7 separate regions of the Homo sapiens genome follow, and all the other regions are linked to region 1. Evidence: promoter capture Hi-C in 16 types of primary human blood cells and fetal thymus (Javierre and others, 2016). All regions are on one chromosome and are shown on one strand. Each heading gives the region's core, a stretch centred on a gene start or on the middle of the fragment in contact. The rest is flanking DNA. Distances are from core to core; before and after follow the strand shown.

Region 1 (2,740 bases), core at 135-2,634:
GGTGTCTATTACCAATTCTACAGGTGCTGGCTCTTACAAGCCAACCCATTATGAGGTAGACAGGGGATTTATCCTGCAGAGCCCACAGGGTCGTCTGCTCTAGACTGAGCCTGCAGACATCTTCCATCCCAGGGCCAAAGGGTAAGGGCCAGGGTTTCAGGTTCACCAAACTGCAGCCCTGGTCCCTTCGTTTAGTGTGAGGAGGGGCACCAGTATGATGAGTGGTTAGTAATGGGTGCAAAGCGGGTGGGGGGATGCCTGGGTATGAGGGCTCCTCTTCCTGGGTCTAGCTCTGGCTCCAACACCTACCAGCTGTGCTACTTGAGCTAATCTCTCAGACCTCAGTTTTACGCTATAAAATGAGGACAATGATGGTGTCAAGTGCATAGAGCTATTATGAGTATTAAAATTCATCAACAAAGATTTTTGTGTAGCTTCTATGTGCTAGGAACAGGGTTCCCATCCTAGCTAGCCACCTGCTGAGACTGAAACCCTGAGCCTCCATTTCTTCCTCTTTGGCCTGCACAGGTCCAGGTTGCTGCTATGGCTGGCTGGGCACCTCCTCCTGCCTCCATTCGCCCTAGGCCTCATTCCCACCTCCCACAGCCTGAACTCATGCCCCTTCTTTGGACTACTCAGCTTGTAGCTGCCACACTCTGTCTGCATTATGTGTGTGGACATTGACTATTACTGGCAGGCCTGGCCACAGAGCCTAGGCCAAGGATTTACTAGTTTGGTCCTTGTCTAGCTCACACTAACCACCTCTCCTTTTTTTTTTTTTTTTTTTTTTTTTTTTTTTTTTTGAGGCAGGGTCTCCGTCTATTGCCCAGGATCCAGGATAGAGTGCAGTGGTGTGATCAAAACACACTGCAGCCTCGACCTTCTGGGCTCAAGTGATCCTCCCGCCTCCGCCTCCCAAAGCAGGGATTCCAGGCGTGAGCCGCCGCTCCCGGCCTCACCTGGCCTTCTTTGTTGGGCTAGGTGGGGACTGGGAAATGCACAGGGCCACTTTCAAATCAAAGTCAGAAGCACTTTGCTCGCTCCACAGAGTCCTCAGTGCTCTGCTGAAAGCAAGGAGGCTTTTTCCAAGGCTCTAGTTTTGCCTCCAGGGAAACTGAGGCACAAGGCAGCAATGATTACTGAGGGTCCTGCCTCCGCTCCTCTAGGTGAGGAGCCTATTCCAGGGGCTCCAGTCTGAAAGCCTAGAGGCGAGGGGCGCGCACTACAATTCCCAGAGGTCCCCGGACTCAAGGGCGGTCCCCGCCCCCCGCCTTCTCCGCGCGACGAAGCCGGGCTTACCAATGGGAGCCCGGAGTGGGGCGAGCAGGGGCGGGACGGGGCGGGACTGCGGGGAGGTGGCCGGCGGGCCGCGCCGCGAGCCAGTATCTCAGAGAGCGCGGGGTCCGGACAGCCGCGCGCTGAGGGTCTCGGGGCGGGCGCCGCGGGACCTCTCCGGGCCATGGGTAAGCGGCTCTGCGGCGCGGCCCGGACAGGGGCTCGGCGGCCCTGCAGGGAGGTTCAAGGTGCCGGCGCCGGGTCCCCTCCAGCCCTCGTGGCAGTCGGTGCGCTGTGTGGGGCGGAGAGGGGCCCGGGGTGGGTTTCGGGGCGCGGGCCAAGGGGAGCGAGCCCGGCCCGCGGCTTCAGCGCTCCCCGGCCGGCGCGGAAGGGGTGAGGCTGGGCGTCCGCGCGAGCTTCGAGAAAAGGAAAGACAAAAAGTTTTGGCGGCCAGGGGCTTCCCGGGCGTTTATCTCGAAACTCTTTTCGCCGTCTCTTGCCTGAAATATGCCGAGCCCGGTACGGCTCTGTCGTCCCACTTCCTGCTGCGGTTTCCACCTCGAGCTGGGCTCAGCTAATTTGTTGTGACAGCTGTCGGCAGCCGCCCCTCCGCCCCGTGACATCCCGCAGGTTTCAGAACCGCGGCGCCGCCGGGCACAGACTCCGGGTCCAGAGCGCGCGGCCCTTTCCTCTGCGGCCGCCGTTTCCTGAAAGGGGCTGCGCGGGTGTGAAGAACTTGCTCAATGCGCTTTGTAGGATCCACTGTTCCTCTTTCGGCCGCGGGCTGCGCCGATGGTCCGGGGAGCCCGGCTTCTCGCCCCCTGCCCCTTCCTTCTCTTCCCTTTTCTCTTTTCCTCTCCTGTCTCTCCGCCCACCCGCCGCAGCCCCACAGGAGAGGGGTCGCTTCCCTGGTTGCTCTCCTCTCCTGTCCCTTGTGTGTCCCCTTGTCTTCCCTCGGTCTGCAGAAGGGACGGGGTGGCGGCTGGGGAGCGTCAGGGGAAGAGGGCAAGAGCGTGGGCTACGAGCTTGCAGGCGATGCCCGGCTTCGCGCTCGGCGGGAGCTGCGGGCCAACCCGGGCCCGCGCTCCGTCCCTCCGCGGTGTCTAGGGGTCGCCCGGGCTGGGGTCGCGTCACCCTCCGCCCAGCGCCGGCGTGGTGGGGCTTGCGCGGTGCAGGACCCCCGAGGGCCCAGGGGGTCCCAAGGCGCTGCGGGTCCAGTGTCCCTTTGTTTGCAGAGTCTTGGGCCAGTAAGGAGTGCTCCGCGGGCCCCAGGGGAGGACAACAGGTGCCTCTTGCCCCACCCGGGCTCCTCTGGTGGGAGCCCACACGCACGGTGGCGTCACTGCGCCTACAGGCAACGCTAGAGCACAGGAGGGGTGGGAGGTCGGGGCTCGAGGGCTTCACCCCGCAGCAGAGCTCAGAGCCCAATCCAGGCCTTAGGGACCCGCCTGGGGCCTAGAACTTG
Region 2 (2,740 bases), core at 96-2,595, 420 kb before region 1:
TTCCTCCTCCTCCTCCTCCTCTTCCTCCTCTTCAGCTTCATCCTCTGGAGATGCCCCACAAACACCCTCCTTCTGGCCCTGGCCTGAGTTGGGAAGGGCAGCCCAACTGGGTGGCAAGGCCCGGGTCCCAGTATCTTCAGGGGTCTCCCCCTCCTCCTTCTCCCCAGTGGACTTCGAGTGTCCGTTGACCTCTCTGGCAGAAGCCACAGAGGCCAGGGCTGGCAGTTTGGCTGAGGCCAAAGCCCCACCATGGTCGGGTCGGGGCTGCTTGGACTCACCCTGCCCAGGCCCCCCCTTGGCCCTGGGACCTCTGCGGTTGCTGCGTTTGGCGATCAGGTAGATGCGCAGGTAGACAAGGATCATGATGAGGCAAGGAGCAAAGAAAGATCCGATGCTGGAGGCCAGGATGTACCAGGCCTCCTGGTTGAGCTTGCACTGGGGGCGCCCGCGCGGCTGGGGGCCCTGGTCGCCCTTGTAGATGAGGGGCGGCAGCGAGATGACGGCGGCGATGAGCCACACAGTGAGGATGATGCACTTGATGCGGCGCGGGGTGCGCTTGGAGTTGTACTCCAGCGCGCGGCTCACGGCCCAGTAGCGGTCCAGGCTGATGGCGCACAGGTGCACGATGGACGAGGTGCAGAAGAGCACGTCGAGCGCCAGGTACACCTCGCACCACGTGCGCCGGAAGTACCAGTAGCCCAGCAGCTCGTTGGCCAGCGAGAAAGGGATGATGAGCGTGGCCACCAGGATGTCGGCGGCGGCCAGCGACACCAGGAACAGGTTCTGAGGGGCGCGCAGCGAGCGGCTGGTCAACACAGCCAGGATGACCAGAGCGTTGCCGAAGATGGTAAAGAGAATGAGGAAGGTGATGGCCGCCGCTATGGCCGCTGTGGCCTGCACGGAGTAGGGGTCCTGGTGGTCCATGACGGGGCGGGAGGTGGGCAGAGGGAGCGCTGCCCGCCCAGTGCGCACCGTGGACGACAGCGCTGCCCGGCTCGGCTAGACAAGAGCGTCGCCCCTCGGGCGGCGCCGAGGGCGCTGGAGCCCCATGGCCTGGACGAGCGGGGCCTAGGAGGTCGGGAACACCCAGGACCAGCAGCCGCCCTCCTACATCCTCCTCCACCGGTGCCCGGGGTCCCTGCCGTCCGCCCCAGAGAAGTTTCCCAAGTTGTCCCGCCGCCGTCCCCGTCCCGCCCGGGACCGGAGAAAGTCGCGCCCTCCCGCCACGCGGATGCCGTACGCTCTGGGGGCGCGGGCCGGGCTGGGCCGGTTCTTAAAGGAGGCGCGGAGGACCTTGCGCCCGCTCAGCTCGCAGGCTTTCGCCCCAGCCGCGCCTGCAGGGGAGTGGGGAGCGGGGAGAGCGGCTGGAGGAAGGCGGAGACTGGAGGCGGGCGCGGGAGCGGGCGGGAGGCGGGGCGGTGGGCGGACCGAGGTGGGCTGAAGGTGCGCTTCGCGGGAGGCGTGAGCCCGGGACTTCCCGCGCCCGGACCCCGCCCAGCGCCTCTACCTGCCTTCCTCCCGGCGGCCGCGCCTCGGGAGAGCGGAGGGGCCCGGCGGCCGGGGTCTCCGGCCCCCAGGCAGGACGCGCGCAGCTGTGGAGGGGTCGGTGGGTGCCGGGAGCCGGGACGCGGAGCTAGCGCGCGGGCCGGCACCGGGACGGGACACTTCTCCCGGGGGAACCGGGCTGGGCCCGGCGCCGGTGCGCCCTGCTCTGCCTTCCGCCGCTCGGGAGCCCGCAGGGAGGGCAGGGCGGGCGTGGGGCTGGGGCGCCGGGTCGCAATACACCACAACCCCGCCCGGCTCGGCCGTGGAGACGCCCTGCGGAGAGGTGGGGGAGCGGGGAGCGGGGAGCCGGTCCCGACCCTTTCCCAGGCGCTGCCCCTCGCGGACCAGCTCCGTCGGGCCAGCGCCGCGCGAGGAGGGCGCGTCCCGGCCTGCGAGCGCCCCCTGCTGCCGCCCGCGGGCCCAGCCCGTCAGCGGCAGCCCGGGTCCCGGAGCCAGCGCTCGCAGCCTGGGTCTTAGGACTTCGGCTTCTTGTGTCTCCGCAGCTGCCTCAGTTTCCTCCATTAAGGGCAAAGGAGGTAACAGGGAAACTGGCTTGGACTCGAATCACAGCATCAACTGCGATTCAGCCAAGGGTTTGTACGGGGCACAGGGCGAGCTGCCGCCCCTTGACTAATGCGAAGGGGAGGTCCCTTCCTTGCCGTGGGGGAGTAAAGGGTGGGGACTTTGTCACACAGCTCCGAGAAAAAGCAGGTCTCAGGGGCAGCCGTGAAGAGAGGAGCGTCCCTCCGCTTCTGTAGTGACCCCGGGGGAAGGGGTTGACCCTCCCTCCCTGCTGCGGTCCTGCCCCACATACACACTGAAGCCCTTCTGGGGGTGACAGTGGAAAGAGGGTTGGGGTAAAAAGAAACTTCAGACTAAGGCCCCCCACTCGCCTTCAAAGCGCTATGAGCAACTGTTCTCCCTCAGGGCCCCAACTCACTCTCCCTGCCACACCGCCACCAGCACCAGCCTGGGCAGCCCTGAGGGCATGTTTCCCCGGTTCTGGAGCCCCTAATGTCATAAGCCCCGCCTCGAGCCAGGCCTCTTATTCACAGCCCACGACTCTGCAAGGCATCCTCTGTATAAATAAGCACCAATCCACCTCTGACAGTGGGGCTCCCCCAGGCCCCGTCCAACCTGCTGGACCTCCTCTCCTCCCTGCTCCCTCCATGGGAGCAGAGCACGTGGCCTCTCA
Region 3 (2,740 bases), core at 159-2,658, 400 kb before region 1:
AAGAAAGTTTTGTTGTTTTTTTCAATTTCTGAATAGGAGAAGCTTTCGGTTTTGATGTATCGGTTTCTACTTTATATCATGATCAGAATGTTTACATTGGTCTACTTTCAGAGTTGCAGGTTTTCATGGCATTTCATGGTATATCATAAAATTATCAGGGTAAACTTTCACAACTGTTCCACGAGCATTGGGAAGGATCAGTCTGTTTTCAGGGTACAGAGTCACTTGTCACCCCCCTCACAACCTCCCCAGCCTGGTCTGATTCAATATCCATCCCCTCCCCCTTTGTGAGGTGCTACCCACGTGCCCCGTCACCCCTTTCTCTGTGACTCATGTTTGCTGAGAGCCACTGAGAAAGCGGTGTTTGGGGCCTGGGAAGGTCCTTGGGCCCAGGCAGCTTCCCTGGCTGCCTCACCTGGCTAACATGACAGCCCTGAAAGGTCTCGTGCTGGACGCCCTCCACCTGCGGTAGGCCTTCCTGCTCCAACCCCTAAGCCAGACTCCCACCCAAACCTCCTCTGCCCCTCCCTCGTGGGGCTCTTCCTGCCTCCTGAACCAGACCATCAAGCCCACAATGAGAGAGACCCCACCATCACCAGGATCTGATCCCCGGCGCCACACAGCCGCTGCCAGCACAGGAACCACAGCCCACCTGCCTCCAGCCTCCACTCTCCCATGGCCACAGTCTGTGTTCCTTCTGCCTGCTCACTGGCACCACTGGCACATGTCCCAGCCCCACAGTGCTGCCCTCAGCCCGTGGCCCAGCACTTGGCTTGTGCAGCCTGCTACCTTGGGGTCCCACTTTGGCTCAGCTCCCCAAGCTGGCACACAGCCCCAGTCCATGGTGGTGGTATCTGGTACATGAGACCGCTGCTAGAGTACTCAACAAGCAGGTATCATGGGCACTGCCTGCCCCATCGCCAGGGAGAGGACAGTGTCAGGGATGAGAAGCGAGACAAAGCAGGTGGTGGCGCCCTAGCTAAGGCACAACTACAGGTGGGTAGAGGAAGGCCTGGGGCCCAGAGCAGCACCCAGAGTACCACCTCCAGGTACCAGGTACCAGACAGAAGTGAGACCCCCACCTTCCCCACAGGAAGCAGGCAGGTGATGGGGAGGATGGATAGCCTCACCCATGGGGACCAGGCGACTTGGGCCCAAGCCGTGCTGTCCCCTCCCCGGCACCAGCCTGTCCTGCGTGTGGCCTGGCTCACCTGGCAGGATCTCGTTCCAGTTGACACGGATATAGCGGTCCCGGTCGGCCCGCGTGTGCTCGTGCCAGAAGCCCAGCACATGCATGAGCTCATGAAGGACAATGCCCCGGCCCTTCTGGAGACACGTGGGCGCCAGGGAGACCACCTGCATCCCTCCACTGCGCCCCACACTCGAGAAGCACCTGCAGGGTGATGAGAGCAAGTGGGGTAAGTGCCAGCCCAGATCCCTCCGGACATACAGACCTGGGCTCTCCCTCCCCACACAACACAAGATAGACAAACTCCCAACAGGCAGGCCCCACTCTGGGCTCTAGTCTCAGGTTCACCATTCTCCAGGCCCCTTTACTGCCTGGACTTCTGTGAAATGGCCATACCGGACCCCCATCACCAGCCTGGGCTGCAGGGAGGCTGCAGAAACTGATATATGAACACAGAGGACAGAAGCAGCTTACTAAGTGAGCACACCCTCCTGGTCAGCCCTAAGCCAAGGCTTTCACACAAATTGCCTCAGGCCCCTGACAAGCTAGGAAGCAGGTATCGCCACCACTCGCACCCCAGAGGGGACAGAAGAGGCTCAGAAGTTAGGGGACTTGCCAGGACTCAGTGACTCACGCACTGTCTGCCCCGCAAAACCTCCTCTCCTCACCACCTCATGGAGTCCCCCGGGAGAGGAGGGCTTTGTAAATGGAGGGTCTAGCACCGTTCCCATCCCTTTCCCACATTCCGCCCTGGAGGTCCAGCTCACACTTGGCAGACCCCTCAGGGTGGGCAGGGAGACTGAGCCCTGGAGGATGGGCCCAGGAATACATTTTAGACAATGGCCAAGTTAATTCCGGGCTGAACGCAGAAGCGAGCTGAGATACGCATCCTGGCCCCGGCACTTACCCATACATGGGGATGATGGAAATGAAGTCTCTCTGGTCCTGATAGGTGACAAACCTGATGCACGTGGAACGTTCAAACTCCGCAAGAGCCTCCAGGATGACCTGGCGGCTGGGCTCATCTGGAAGACACCACCTGGCTGAGCCCCCAGAGCCCTGGTGGTCTTTGAGCTCTACCTGAGGGTCTGGGAGCAGAGCTCTGAACTCACTCTCCCAAAATAGCATCAAGAAAGGGCAGCTTAGTGGTGCCAGGAAGAAGCTGGGCCCCAGACAGACCCTGGCTGTGTGGCCTTGGGTAGGTCACTGTCCTCTGCACCGCATGGTCTCAAGGGGAACCAGATCCCCACTCGACATACCTTCCCATCAGATTTTAACCCTCCCTACTCAGGAGACCTTCAGCAACAGAAGGGCATCTGTGGACAGGTTCTTCGGGTGGGGAGGTGGAAGGGATGTGATGGTGTAAGAGGAAAAGGGAAGAGAGGAACACCTGCCGCATTAGGAAGAAGGGGCTGAGGCAGGGAGGGAGCGCGCCATGCTCACTCACCGTACTTGCTGGAGAGCAGGAAGGGGACCTCCACGACACCACTACCACCCATGGGCCATTTGTTGCTGGTTGCTGACAGCAGTCGGAAGGGACTCTGAGGAGAG
Region 4 (2,740 bases), core at 97-2,596, 380 kb after region 1:
CATGGAGAAACCTCGTCTCTACTAAAAATACAAAAATTAGCTGGGTGTGGTGGCACGCACCTGTAGTCCCAGCCACTTGGGAGGCTGAGGCAGGAGAATCGCTTAAACACGGGAGGCGGAGGTTGCAGTGAGCTGAGACTGTGCCATTGCACTCCAGCCTGGGCGACAGAGTGGGAAAAAAAAAAAAAGAAAAAGAAAAAAAGAAAGGGGGAAATAAGCCCTAGGCAACCAAAAACACTCCTATTAACCTCACACCCAAAGATGGCCTTTCTTTTCCCCTAAACAGAATTGGCATCACACTTTACATATGGCTTCAAAGCCTTTTTTCCACTCAGCGTATTTCATTAACTTTCCCATTTTCCTGTGACATCATTTTTAGGTACCATATAATACTCCGTAGCACGGGCAGAACTGAATCGATGGTGGGGCACTGAGGCAATTTCCAGTTCTTCACTATCATGACATTGCTATGCCAAACATCCTTGTCAATGAATCTTTGCCATCTAGTTCCCCAGAAAACGATCTAGCTTTTTGAAGGGTGTGCACATTTTAAAGTCATTTGCTTGATTTTGCCAAACTGGCCTCCAGAGGGACTACTGACCGCATCTCATGAGCAGGGAAGCATATGCCTGTTTCCTCACATCCTGCCAACACTGGGCAGCACTGTCCTTTCGGATTGATTCTGGTCTGCCAGGCAAGGAACTCTACGTCATTGTCAGGGCTGGTTTCGTGAGCCGTTTTACGCAGGCTTTGTCCATTCCTCCATCTGACCAGGCAGCCTGCGGGAGCTGGCTTCATCTGACCTTCTGCTTTGAAGCAGCGCACACAGGATGTTTAATGAATAGCCGCAGGCAGTGAAGGAAGAGGATCCCCAGAGCCTGGGACATCAGCTTTCAGTAGAGTGCAAGCAGTTGCAGGAGCCCTGAACAGAAGTGGGGATGGCATGCTGCTCTTCCCAAAGCTGCCTGAGCTGCCCCAATGGCGCCACCTCCCAAGGTGGATGTTCCTCCAAGAACCTCCTCTTCCCCTTGGCTCTGTTTCAGGTGGTCTGCCTTAGTATTCACTTTCATTTTTCATGGTTAGGCCCAGCTCTTCCTTACATTTGCAGTGCATCCCATGAAGTCTTGAACGCTGAGGCAGGGGCTGCGGGTGTACTGCATGAGTGTCAGCAGGAGTTCTCGCTTTGTGCTTAACCAGTCAGTCGAGCAGACAAAGAGTGTGACAGCCCTTCGTACACCAATCTGCCCTTCTTCCTGGGGTCAGTCTGGGCACAGAGCCCAGTGGGGCAGCCACCAGTGAAGGCAGCCAGTAAGCTCTGTGGCCGCCGCGGGAAGCACAGTGGAGCAGCAGCTCACTGAAGACCCACAGTGAGTACAACGCGGCAGGAAAAAAGAATTAGGAGCCCTTTACAACCCAATCAGGGATGACGGCCAGAACACACCCTGAAGAGCAAAGAAGGTGCGGAAACGGCGGGTACGTGCACACGCAGACAGAGGCTGGCGGCCAGCCAGGTGGCTCTGGCTCAGGGGAAGAAGCGCATTTTCAACATCAAATTTGAAAGGAGTACTTTCAAAAAGGTACTCCTTGGTACCTTACGAATTTTGTTTTATTTGAATGCTTTTATCTATTTAGAAAAATAAAATCAATAACACTGATCCCGATAAGGCACCCTCCTTCCTAGTAAAGCTCTTGGCACAAAGCATCACCCTGCTGACGTGGCTGCCTGAAAGGCAGGCGCAAGATGCTCTGTTTCATTCATTTCCTGGCATTTAAAGGGCAATTGCCATGGGCCCTGGAGCTACCCACAGATTCCACAAAAGACACTGATTCATGAAATCACAGTTTAACATGGCTAGCAGATGAAGGAGTGAAGTCATAAACTTAGGATATGGAGAAGGTAGCTTCAAATCTGTCTTGAAAGGATGAATTATTAAGACCAAAAAGCTGAGGCATGGTGGCTCACACCCGTGATCCCAGCAGTTTGGGAGGCTGAAGTGGGAAGATCACTTCAGCCCAGGGATTTGAGATCGGCCTGCACAACATAGGGAGACCTTGTCTCTACTAAAAATTTAAAAATTAGATGGGTGTGTTGGCATCTGTCTGTAGTCCTAGCTACTAAGGAGGTTGAGGCAGGAGGATTACTTGATCCCAAGAGGTCGAGGCTGCAGTGAGCCATGATGGTACCACTGCACTCCAGCCTGGGTGACAGAGTGAGACCCTCTCTCAAAAAACAAAACAAAAGGCAGAAAAATTGACGTTGGGTCCCCACTGGCTGTTTGGGGATGGAAAAAATCAAGTTAGATCCTTCTCTCATACCAAGGACAAACAGATTTGAGTTGGGATTAAGAGCTGATGGACACAAAGTAAAGCCAGTCCTGAAAGAGAAGAAAGCACACTATCTTTATGGTCTTGGTGGGGAAACCCTTCGTCTTCCACATGGAAAGATTACATTACACAAAAATCCCAATCAATTCTCTGCATTATCCATAAAACTGTCCTGTAAATCTAAATCTATTCTAAAATAAAAAAAAAAAGGACTGAAAAAGTAAAAAAAAAAAGAAAAAAAATTCCAGTTCACTGAAAGGTACCATACATAAAGATTTAAAAAGGACAATCTATATAACCTTTGGAGAAAACATACTGTAACATAATAAGCAACATGAAGATCAACAGAGTTGATAAGAAGATAAATTAACTGATAGGAAAGTGGGTAAGAAATACCAAAAGGTAATTTACAGTA
Region 5 (2,740 bases), core at 126-2,625, 360 kb before region 1:
TTAAGATCACTTTCATCTACACGTTACTGCTTGATTTTTAAAAGGCTTTCAAGTTTATTCATTAGAAATCATAGTTCTCAGATTTTATTGCTATTTTCACTTTGAGAAAAATATTTAGATTTCTGTCCTATCATGGTGGGTTCAGAGACTGGTGACTTTGAAATTTAATACCTTTAGAAAACGTTATTTCAAGATGTCCCCACCCCCCATCCCTTCATTACACAGTATGGTACTGGGAGTGGTGTACATTCTGAAGTGTTCTAGAGAAAAATGATTCCAGATACTTACAGAAACAGAACTCAAACAATTGGTGAAAGAGATAAAGTTCAAGCAACTGGCTATTATACTGGATGGAACTAGAGGGTAAGAAGTGTAAACCACATAAAATTTAACACAGAAAGCAAGCCTAAACCAGGCATAGTGGCTCACACCTATAATTCCAGTGCTTCGGGAGGCCAAATTGGGAAGATTGCTTGAGGCCAGTTTTGAGACCAGCCTGGGCAACATGGTGAAAGCCCACCTATAAAATAAATACAAAAATTATCCAGGTGTGGTGGCTCGTGCTGTAGTCCCAGCAGAGGTGGGAGGATTGCCTGAGCCCAGGGAGTTGAAGACTGCAGTAAGCCTTGACTGCGCCACTGCAATCCAGCCTGGGTGACAGAGTGGGACTCTGAAAAAACAAAAGTCAAGCAAGCAGGCAAGCCTAGGCCAGGCACAGTGGCTTACACCTGTAATTCCAATACTTTGGGAGATCTAGGTGGGAGGATCACTTGAAGTCAGGAGTTTGAGACCAGCCTGGGCAACACAGTGAGACCCCATCTCTACAGAAAAATTAGATGGGAATGGTGGTGCATGCCTGTGGTTGGTCTGGGCTACTCAGGAGGCTGATGTGGGAGTTCACTTAAACCCAGGAGTTCAAAGCTGCAGTGAGATCTGATGGCACCACAGCACTCCAGCCTGGGCACCAGCGAGACTATCTCAAAAAATAAAATTTTTTAAAAAGCAAGCTCATGGGGCATATGTTCTCAAGATCTCCTGAGGGCTGTGTCACTAGCCAAAAAATAAAAATAAATAAATAAATAATAAAAAATAAAGCAAGCTATGATCCAAGCTTCCAAACAAGTCAACTACCCCCAGGGGAAAGAATCTGGCAGTATTTATAAACATTAAGTTTTAGGGGGAAAATAAAAAAATTTAAAAACATAAGTTTTAAGCCATGCTGCCAGCTGTCTTTGGAGATGTTAGAGCTAGGTCTGCATCCTGGCTGTCACTTCCTGTGTGACCCTGAGCAAGAAAATTACTTAACCTCTAATGCCATCTCTTCATTTTATAGATGAGGCACTAGCTACATACTCACAGGGCTATAGAATTAGATGAAGGCATGAAGCATGGTGCCTGGCACAGTAGATGCTCAATAATGGTGGCTATTATTGGCTAATCCCAAACTCAGCATAAGCCAACAGTATGACAAGACTTACATCAGTAGTATGCGGATCTAGGAAGACTGTTGCCTCTCTAGCCTATTTGTCTCCCTTTGATCACATTCAACATTTAACACTTGTTCATGTACACTTGCACAACACTTGCTCACCCCTAGAGGTTTCAATGGTCTGGGGTGGGGCCAGGCTTTGGGAGTTTGCAAAGCTTCCCAAGTGCAGCCAAGCTTGAAGACCACTGCTCTACATTCTATTATATGAAGCACAGGTGAAGTTACAAAAGGTAGACTACTGTTCTAGATGAAAAGTGGCCAAAGAAGGCCGGGCGAAGTGGCTCACGCCTGTAATCCCAGCAGTTTTGGGGGCTGAGACGGGTGGATCACTTGAGGTCAGGCGTTTGAGACCAGCCTGGCTAACATGGTGAAACCTCATCTCTACTAAAAATATAAAAATTAGTTGGGTGTGGTGGTGCACGCTTGTAATCCCAGCTACTCGGGAGGCTGAGGCAGAAGAATTGCTTGAACCCGGGAGGTGGAGGTTGCAGTGAGCTGAGATGGTGTCAATGCACTCCAGCCTGGGTGACAGAGCAACACTCTGTCTCACAAAAAAAAAAAAAAGTGGCCAAAGAGACAAATGCAACACACGATAATTAATCTTGGGTTGGGGAGGCTATAAAAGTCATTTTGGAAATTTTAATATGAACTGCATTATTAGATATTGTGGCATTGTTATTTATCTTGTGTGCTCATGGTATTGTGGCTACACAGAACACCTGTATTATAAAAAGCATGCTCAACTGTTTAGGGGTGAAATACCATGATGTTTGCATCCTACTTTCAAATGATCATGACACTGTGTATATAGAAAGAGAAAGCACACACAGCAGATGTTAAACACCAGCAAAGGGAAGGGTATACAACGTAGTTTCTTCGTCTTTTTCTATATATATATACATTTTTTAAAATGAAAACCTCATACTAACACTCAACCCACGGTCACCACGCTGTGATAGCTAAGCCCACGCTAGCTATTAAAGCATCACTACTTTCCTATTATTTGGTTCTCCTGTTCATAGAACACTCAGTGCTGCTGTCTCACAACATGTCTACACAAACCACACAACAAAAACTGCAAGGCCTATAGAGAAATGGGTTTAGGTGTGCAATACTCAAATCTTTGTGACACATAAAAAGGTACCAGTTTCAAATATGTCAATGGTTAAGAAATAAAGCAGTCTACCTTGACCTGCAATTTGCAGGCAGAAACACACTGGACAGCCCACCCAGCTCCCACGCGTACCACCC
Region 6 (2,740 bases), core at 138-2,637, 320 kb after region 1:
CTCATCTCTACCTACTACACGCCTGTAGCACCCTCCTGATTGTGACAACCCAAAATGTCTCCAGATATTCAAAGTCCCTTAAAGGGCAGAACTGCCCCCAGTTGAGAACTGGGGTGTTTAGGGAGGGTCTCTGAGGAGATGACATTGGAGCTGGGATCTGAAGAAAAGCATCAGCTAGCTTAACGGTTGTAGGAAGTTCATTCTAAGGAGATGGGACAGCAAGTCCAACGGCCTTAACTCAGGAAAAGGTCTTGCATATTTGAGACACCAAAACAAGACCAGTGTGGCTGCGGCGTAGTGATTGGGGGAAGAAAAGCATGAGAAATAAAATGAGGAGGAGAAGTAGAACCGGCAGGGGTGGGTCTACAGAGCTTTGTAGGCCATAACAGGGAATGATGTGATTTCTAATTTTCAAAAAGCCGCTCTGGCTGCTATGTGAGAGTAGAAAACCCTGTAGGAAGGCAAGCGTGGAAGCAGAAAGACCCTCTGAGGCAACCACTTCAGCAGTGCAGAGGACAGCGGTAGGAGGGGCGGAGGGAAGTAGGCAGGTGCCAGAACCACGGTAAAGGAAGAGTTCCATGAGAATGCTTACACAGCAGTGGCAATCGAGGGCTGCATCCGCAAGGGCAGATGACACAGCACAGTGGTTCCCAACGCTCACAAGAAGCACCCTGGTTTCCCGCCTTCCTCTGTTCCTATTGGCACCATAATCTCTGTATAATCTGGGCCAAACGTGTTACCTCTCTGGGTCCCACAGATGAGATACTGTGCCCTGCCTCGAAGGCTGCCCGTGCGAAGCTCTTGCCATCTTTAAAGCATGCAGGCTGCCTGGCACCCGGGGCTAAACAAAGGCCACTGCTCTCCTTCACCGCGCAGCCCCCAGGCCTGCAGCTCCATGCCCCTCAGGTTGGGTGCAATGCCCCTGGTGCAGATTCTGCTCCCCGGGCCCTCTCTCAAACACCTGAGCAGGCTTGTGTCTCCCAGGGGAGGTCGTCCCCCGCTACTCGGGAGGGTTACGGAAACCAGTGCTTCCGCTTCCCCGCCGCCCGCGGGACAGGTGTCTCCTGGCCGAGCTCGTGCGGGGCCCTGGGAGGCTCTCAGTACACGGGAACCGTGGGTCCCGCCCGCCTTCCCGCACCAGGCCCCAAGCCCCAAGCCCCAAGCTCTCGGGGCCCCGTTCATCCGCCTCTCCTTGGCCCCACGCCTCCTCCTTGGGCCGGGGCCTGGTGAGAACCACGAGGGCCGCGCGGCAGCCTCACCCCTCTCGAAGTCCATCTCCTCCAGCGTCTGCTGTACGCCGAGCACCGCGCTGGGATGCGAGCAGCAGGGCCCGTCCGCGCAGGGCCGAGGCGTCGCCATCCCGGCCCCGGCGTCAGTCGATCCGCCCCGGGTCTCAGGCTCAGCCTCGGCGGGAGGGGCGGACGCAGGGCCCGCCCCGCGTCCCTGATCTGGCCGCTCGGCGTCCGCGGCTGTCGCCCTAGTCCCGCCTTCTCGCCAAAGCTGACCAATCAAACGCCTAGGCCTTAGCTCGAGAACCAATTGCAACGGTAGGGCGGGGCTTGTTGCGCCCGGCCGTGCCCCGAGGCCTCCGCGCGAGGGCGTCCAAGGCCAAGCGAGGACTGAGGCGCTGGGTTCCGGGAGCCGCGCGCCGCTGGAGGGCCGCCGGGCCGCCTGGCCTTGCAGGGTGTGGGGATGAGGCAGCTGGGTCCGGTCGGGAGCTTTCCCGTTACCTTCGCCATGACCCAGCCGTCCAGCGACCTCGCAGCCTCCTCTCTTTACCGCCCCTAGTCCCTAGGGCAGGGAGGCGCCACGCGCTCCGCGGTCTTTTTTTTTTTTTTTTTTTTTTTTGAGACGGAGTCTCGCTGTCACCCAGACTTGTGTGCAGTGGCGCGATCTCGGCTCACTGCAACCTCCGCCTCCCGGGTTCAAGCGATTCTCCTGCGTCAGACTCCTGAGTAGCTGGGACTACAGGCGCCCGCCACCACGCCCGGCTAATTTTTTGTATTTTTTAGTAGAGACGGGGTTTCGCCAGGATGGTCTCGATCTCTTGACCTCGTGATCCGCTCACCTTGGCCTCCCAAAGTGCTGGGATTACAGGCGTGAGCCATCGGGCCGGGGCGCGCTCCACGGTTTTTAGCCCCTCTTCCTGGCACCACCCCGGACCAAGGCCGACCGCCCCCGGGGCAGCGGCAAAGTGACGGCTGGAAAGGCCTCGAGACGCCCCTCCCCGTACCCTGCTCTTCCTTACAAGTCCAGCAAGGGGCAGGTGGCCACAACTTGTCCTGCCTGTAGCTCCACCTCAGGGCAGGGGCAGGGCCTTGGTTTGTGCAGAACCCCCTGGCCCCACAGTGGGCGCTGAGTTTACGGAATCGGTCTTCATGATCAAAACCCACCGGGAGGCCGTCTGCGGACCGCGCACCTTCGCAGCGTGCTCCTCAGCGGACCCCAGCCTTCTCAATTCCCAGTTAAAACCCAGGCAGCTGCCTGCTCAAGCCACGATCAAGTGTACAGGGGAGACCGCCTGATCGGCTTAGAAAGAGTGCATGAACGACAGAATGCAGGTTGGGTTCTGTGCCAGTCCCTCTCCAGGACAGTGGTCTGGTGCACACTGGATGTAAGTTCCTTCCCCCGCTAGTTGGGGCACGGAAGACCCTAGCATTCCTGGTGGGTAGAAGGCTGGAAGTCGTTTCTCCTCCCCTAAGCAGGTTGAGAACCCCATCCTCACACAAGCAATGATCTC
Region 7 (2,740 bases), core at 72-2,571, 300 kb before region 1:
CAGAACACTTACATTGGCCTACAGTTGGGCAAAGTGATCCGTCCATACAGCCCACTGTAGAATATTGGTCATCCAGCCTAGTGATCCTGTGGCTGGCAGAGCTGCACTCACTGCTGCTGCCCAGCATCACGAGAGAGCATCGCACCACATATCACTCACCTAGGGAAAGATCAAAATCCAGCATTCGAAATACAGCTTCTACTGAATGCACATCGCTTTCGCATCATTGCTGAAGTAAAAAAAATTAAGTTGAACCTTCATAAGTCAGGAACTGTCATGACAATGTCATCTTTTCTTCTGGGCCCCACTCAAAACTGATAGCCTTTTAAGTTATTCAGAAAATGGGTCAGAGAAGAACATTGAAATGAGGTATACATTGCCTTCAAAATCCAAAACCACTGGGCATTGTGCCTCTTAGTGGTAGTAGGGCCCAGCTTAACATGCCCCAGACCGTTAGGCCCCCCAGAAGGTTCACTGAATGTTTGTGGGATTTATTTCCCACCCTCTGGCATACATATATCTCGTCAAGGTGGCTAGAATAGTTACTACTTCTAATCAGCATATTATCAACACATTAGATGAATGTGATGTCCTGTGGAGTAGAGAAGAGGACAAGGTCTCCACAAACTAGATGATGACAGATGACTGCGAATTGATACAGTCCTGAGTTTGGATAACGAATAGGTATTGCTAGCCCTGTCAGCTCAAAGCAAACTGCTTTTGATGGTCTTTACTAAAAATTGCTGAGGAAAAAAGCATTCATCAGATCAATAGCTGCATACTTTGCTCCAAGGGATGCATTGATTTGCTTCATGAATGAAGGCACACCTAGAATAGCAGCTGCAATTGGAGTCACAACCTAATTGAGTTTATAATAATCCACGCCATTCTCTTGGATCCATCTTGGATCTGCACAGGCTAGAGAGCTAAGCTGAATGGAAATCATCAGCTCTGTGTCTTTCAGATCATTGATTAGTGGTGGAACTAATTTCTGCAATCTCTCCAGGAATGCAGTGCTGCTTTTGGCTCACTGCTTTTATAGGTAGAGGCTAACATTTATATGGTTTGTCTTTTTTTTTTTTTTTTTGAATAGAGTTTCGCTCTTTTTGCCCAGGCTAGAGTGCAATGGCACTATCTCAGCTCACTGCAACCTCTGCCTCCCGGGTTCAAGCAATTCTCCTGCCTCAGCCTCCCAAGTAGCTAGGATTTCAGGCATGTACCACCATGCCCAGCTAATTTTGTATTTTTAGTAGAGATGGGGTTTCTCCATGTTGGTCAGGCTGGTCTCGAACTCCGACCTCAGGTGATCCACCTGCCTCAGCCTTCCAAAGTGCTGGGATTACAGGCGTGAGCCACCTCGCCCGGCCTCCATTTTTTTTCAATTCAGCATAATTTGTATTGTCTCTGAAACTCAGCTTCCTCATCTGTGAAATACAGATAATGATGCCAGCCTTACTTGTGTTCAGAGGTTGTTGTAAGACTCAAATAAGATTGTGTAAGCTAAAATACATTACAAACTGTAGAACCCTCTACAGGGTATAAGGAATAAGCGCTAGAATTATTATTACCTCCTTCCATCCCCTCTTATATAGAAAATTTAGATTATAGTCCCCTTGTTACTATTTCAATCTATGTTTTTTGTTGTTGTTTTTGTTGCAAGTACTTGGAATCCACTCAAAGTAGTTTAAGCATAAATATGGAATCGAATTTGAAAGATCCAGGAGTGTCTCAAGAAGCTCAGAATTCACAGGCAGGAAAGGCACTTGCGCATCATAAGGTGGTAGAAAAAGGAACTGAAAAGGCATTGGGAGCTGTGGCCATGAGAGTGCACTGCTCACATCTCTGAATGCAGGGGAGCGTAACATGGCCCCCTGCTGCTGGGCTATGAAATTCTGCCACTGCATTTGCACTGAGACCACCCTTCTTGTGAGCTGCTCCCACCCGGTGACTGAGTGCAGGCCTGCCATACTAAGGCAGGCCCATTTCTGGGATATGGGGACTCCTCTGACAGGTGGCTTTGGCACAAGCACACCTCATCAGCTCTTGCAGAGCTTTCTTAGAACTACACTACGTTCTAAGCTGGGCATGGTTAGGCATGTGTAGTCCCAGCTACTCAAGAGGCTGAGGGAGGAGAATTGCTTGAGCTCAGGAGTTTGAGGCCAGCCTGGACAACAAAGGGAGACTGTCTCTGAAAAAGAAAGAACTACACTGCGTTCTAACACCTCCTCAACCCAGCCCTCCTCCATTCCTGTCTCCTGGCAGGGGCTACACCTGCATTGCAGCTCTCCCAGGCTCTTCCGGCTTCCTGCTATTCGCTTCACAAGTGTTTTCCCAGCACATCTCTTGCACATTTAGTCCTATCTGGGCATCTTCTCAGAGGACTCAAACCTTAGGACAGGAACCTAAGTAATTCCTCTTTTGCAACTCCAAGTCTATGTGGACTCTTATTTTCTTTCTACTTTTCTACTTCCTTTCTGCTTTACTCTTTCACCCAACCCCTACCTAATCTTCTCAGCTTTTCCATTTATATAAAGAAAAATGTCTGACCCAGTTTCTAAATTTACAAATCCTTCCAGTTTGAGCACTAATTGACACTGATGTCTTTGAATCCTCACTTCAAGCTCCCAAAAGAAAGAATCAAGTGCCTTCACTTGGATTAGGAGCTCATCCCCGGTCCGGTTGTGGTAATTATGGCCAAGGAGACAGGTCTCATGATACAGACAGTATTACTGAGATTCAC

Evidence for each region. Contacts are between HindIII fragments. The CHiCAGO score rates a contact against its expected background, and 5 or more counts as called.
Region 2: a contact is called between the fragment with the promoter of ADRA2B here and the fragment with the promoter of ARID5A in region 1, in 1 of 17 cell types (fetal thymus). The highest score is 6.1, in fetal thymus.
Region 3: a contact is called between a fragment that was not itself captured here and the fragment with the promoter of ARID5A in region 1, in 1 of 17 cell types (activated CD4 T cells). The highest score is 7.3, in activated CD4 T cells.
Region 4: a contact is called between a fragment that was not itself captured here and the fragment with the promoter of ARID5A in region 1, in 1 of 17 cell types (non-activated CD4 T cells). The highest score is 5.3, in non-activated CD4 T cells.
Region 5: a contact is called between a fragment that was not itself captured here and the fragment with the promoter of ARID5A in region 1, in 2 of 17 cell types (total CD8 T cells and total B cells). The highest score is 7.4, in total CD8 T cells.
Region 6: a contact is called between the fragment with the promoter of ANKRD39 here and the fragment with the promoter of ARID5A in region 1, in 2 of 17 cell types (monocytes and erythroblasts). The highest score is 6.8, in monocytes.
Region 7: a contact is called between a fragment that was not itself captured here and the fragment with the promoter of ARID5A in region 1, in 1 of 17 cell types (neutrophils). The highest score is 5.4, in neutrophils.

What each region holds. Positions count from the first base shown.
Region 1 is chr2:96,535,368-96,538,107 of GRCh38, forward strand. ARID5A (AT-rich interaction domain 5A) reads left to right here and starts at 1,385. Exons shown (of 7, transcript NM_212481.3): 1 at 1,385-1,463. The coding sequence starts at 1,460. RefSeq lists silencers at 1,304-1,663, 2,344-2,553. The HindIII fragment of the contact is 5,212 bases long and covers 1-2,740 here.
Region 2 is chr2:96,115,226-96,117,965 of GRCh38, forward strand. It overlaps ADRA2B (adrenoceptor alpha 2B), which reads right to left and starts at 1,346. Exons shown (of 1, transcript NM_000682.7): 1 at 1-1,346. The coding sequence starts at 924. RefSeq lists silencers at 1,246-1,335, 1,436-1,595, 1,606-2,065, 2,106-2,175. The HindIII fragment of the contact is 8,066 bases long and covers 1-2,740 here.
Region 3 is chr2:96,131,329-96,134,068 of GRCh38, forward strand. ASTL (astacin like metalloendopeptidase) reads right to left here. Exons shown (of 9, transcript NM_001002036.4): 4 at 2,637-2,730; 5 at 2,097-2,214; 6 at 1,212-1,393. Among named protein-coding and RNA genes, the nearest start is that of ASTL, 5.8 kb to the right of the region's middle. RefSeq lists enhancers at 2-231, 1,234-1,734. The HindIII fragment of the contact is 2,736 bases long and covers 41-2,740 here.
Region 4 is chr2:96,915,631-96,918,370 of GRCh38, forward strand. The region is part of intron 12 of FAM178B (family with sequence similarity 178 member B); the gene reads right to left. Among named protein-coding and RNA genes, the nearest start is that of SEMA4C, 47 kb to the left of the region's middle. The HindIII fragment of the contact is 8,021 bases long and covers 1-2,740 here.
Region 5 is chr2:96,179,434-96,182,173 of GRCh38, forward strand. No RefSeq gene overlaps it. Among named protein-coding and RNA genes, the nearest start is that of STARD7-AS1, 28 kb to the right of the region's middle. The HindIII fragment of the contact is 533 bases long and covers 1,110-1,642 here.
Region 6 is chr2:96,856,629-96,859,368 of GRCh38, forward strand. ANKRD39 (ankyrin repeat domain 39) reads right to left here and starts at 1,388. Exons shown (of 4, transcript NM_016466.6): 1 at 1,260-1,388. The coding sequence starts at 1,359. RefSeq lists silencers at 1,049-1,218, 1,249-1,918. The HindIII fragment of the contact is 20,079 bases long and covers 1-2,740 here.
Region 7 is chr2:96,232,176-96,234,915 of GRCh38, forward strand. The region is part of intron 1 of STARD7-AS1 (STARD7 antisense RNA 1); the gene reads left to right. Among named protein-coding and RNA genes, the nearest start is that of SNORA112, 19 kb to the left of the region's middle. RefSeq lists enhancers at 1,847-1,916, 1,927-2,076. The HindIII fragment of the contact is 9,545 bases long and covers 1-2,740 here.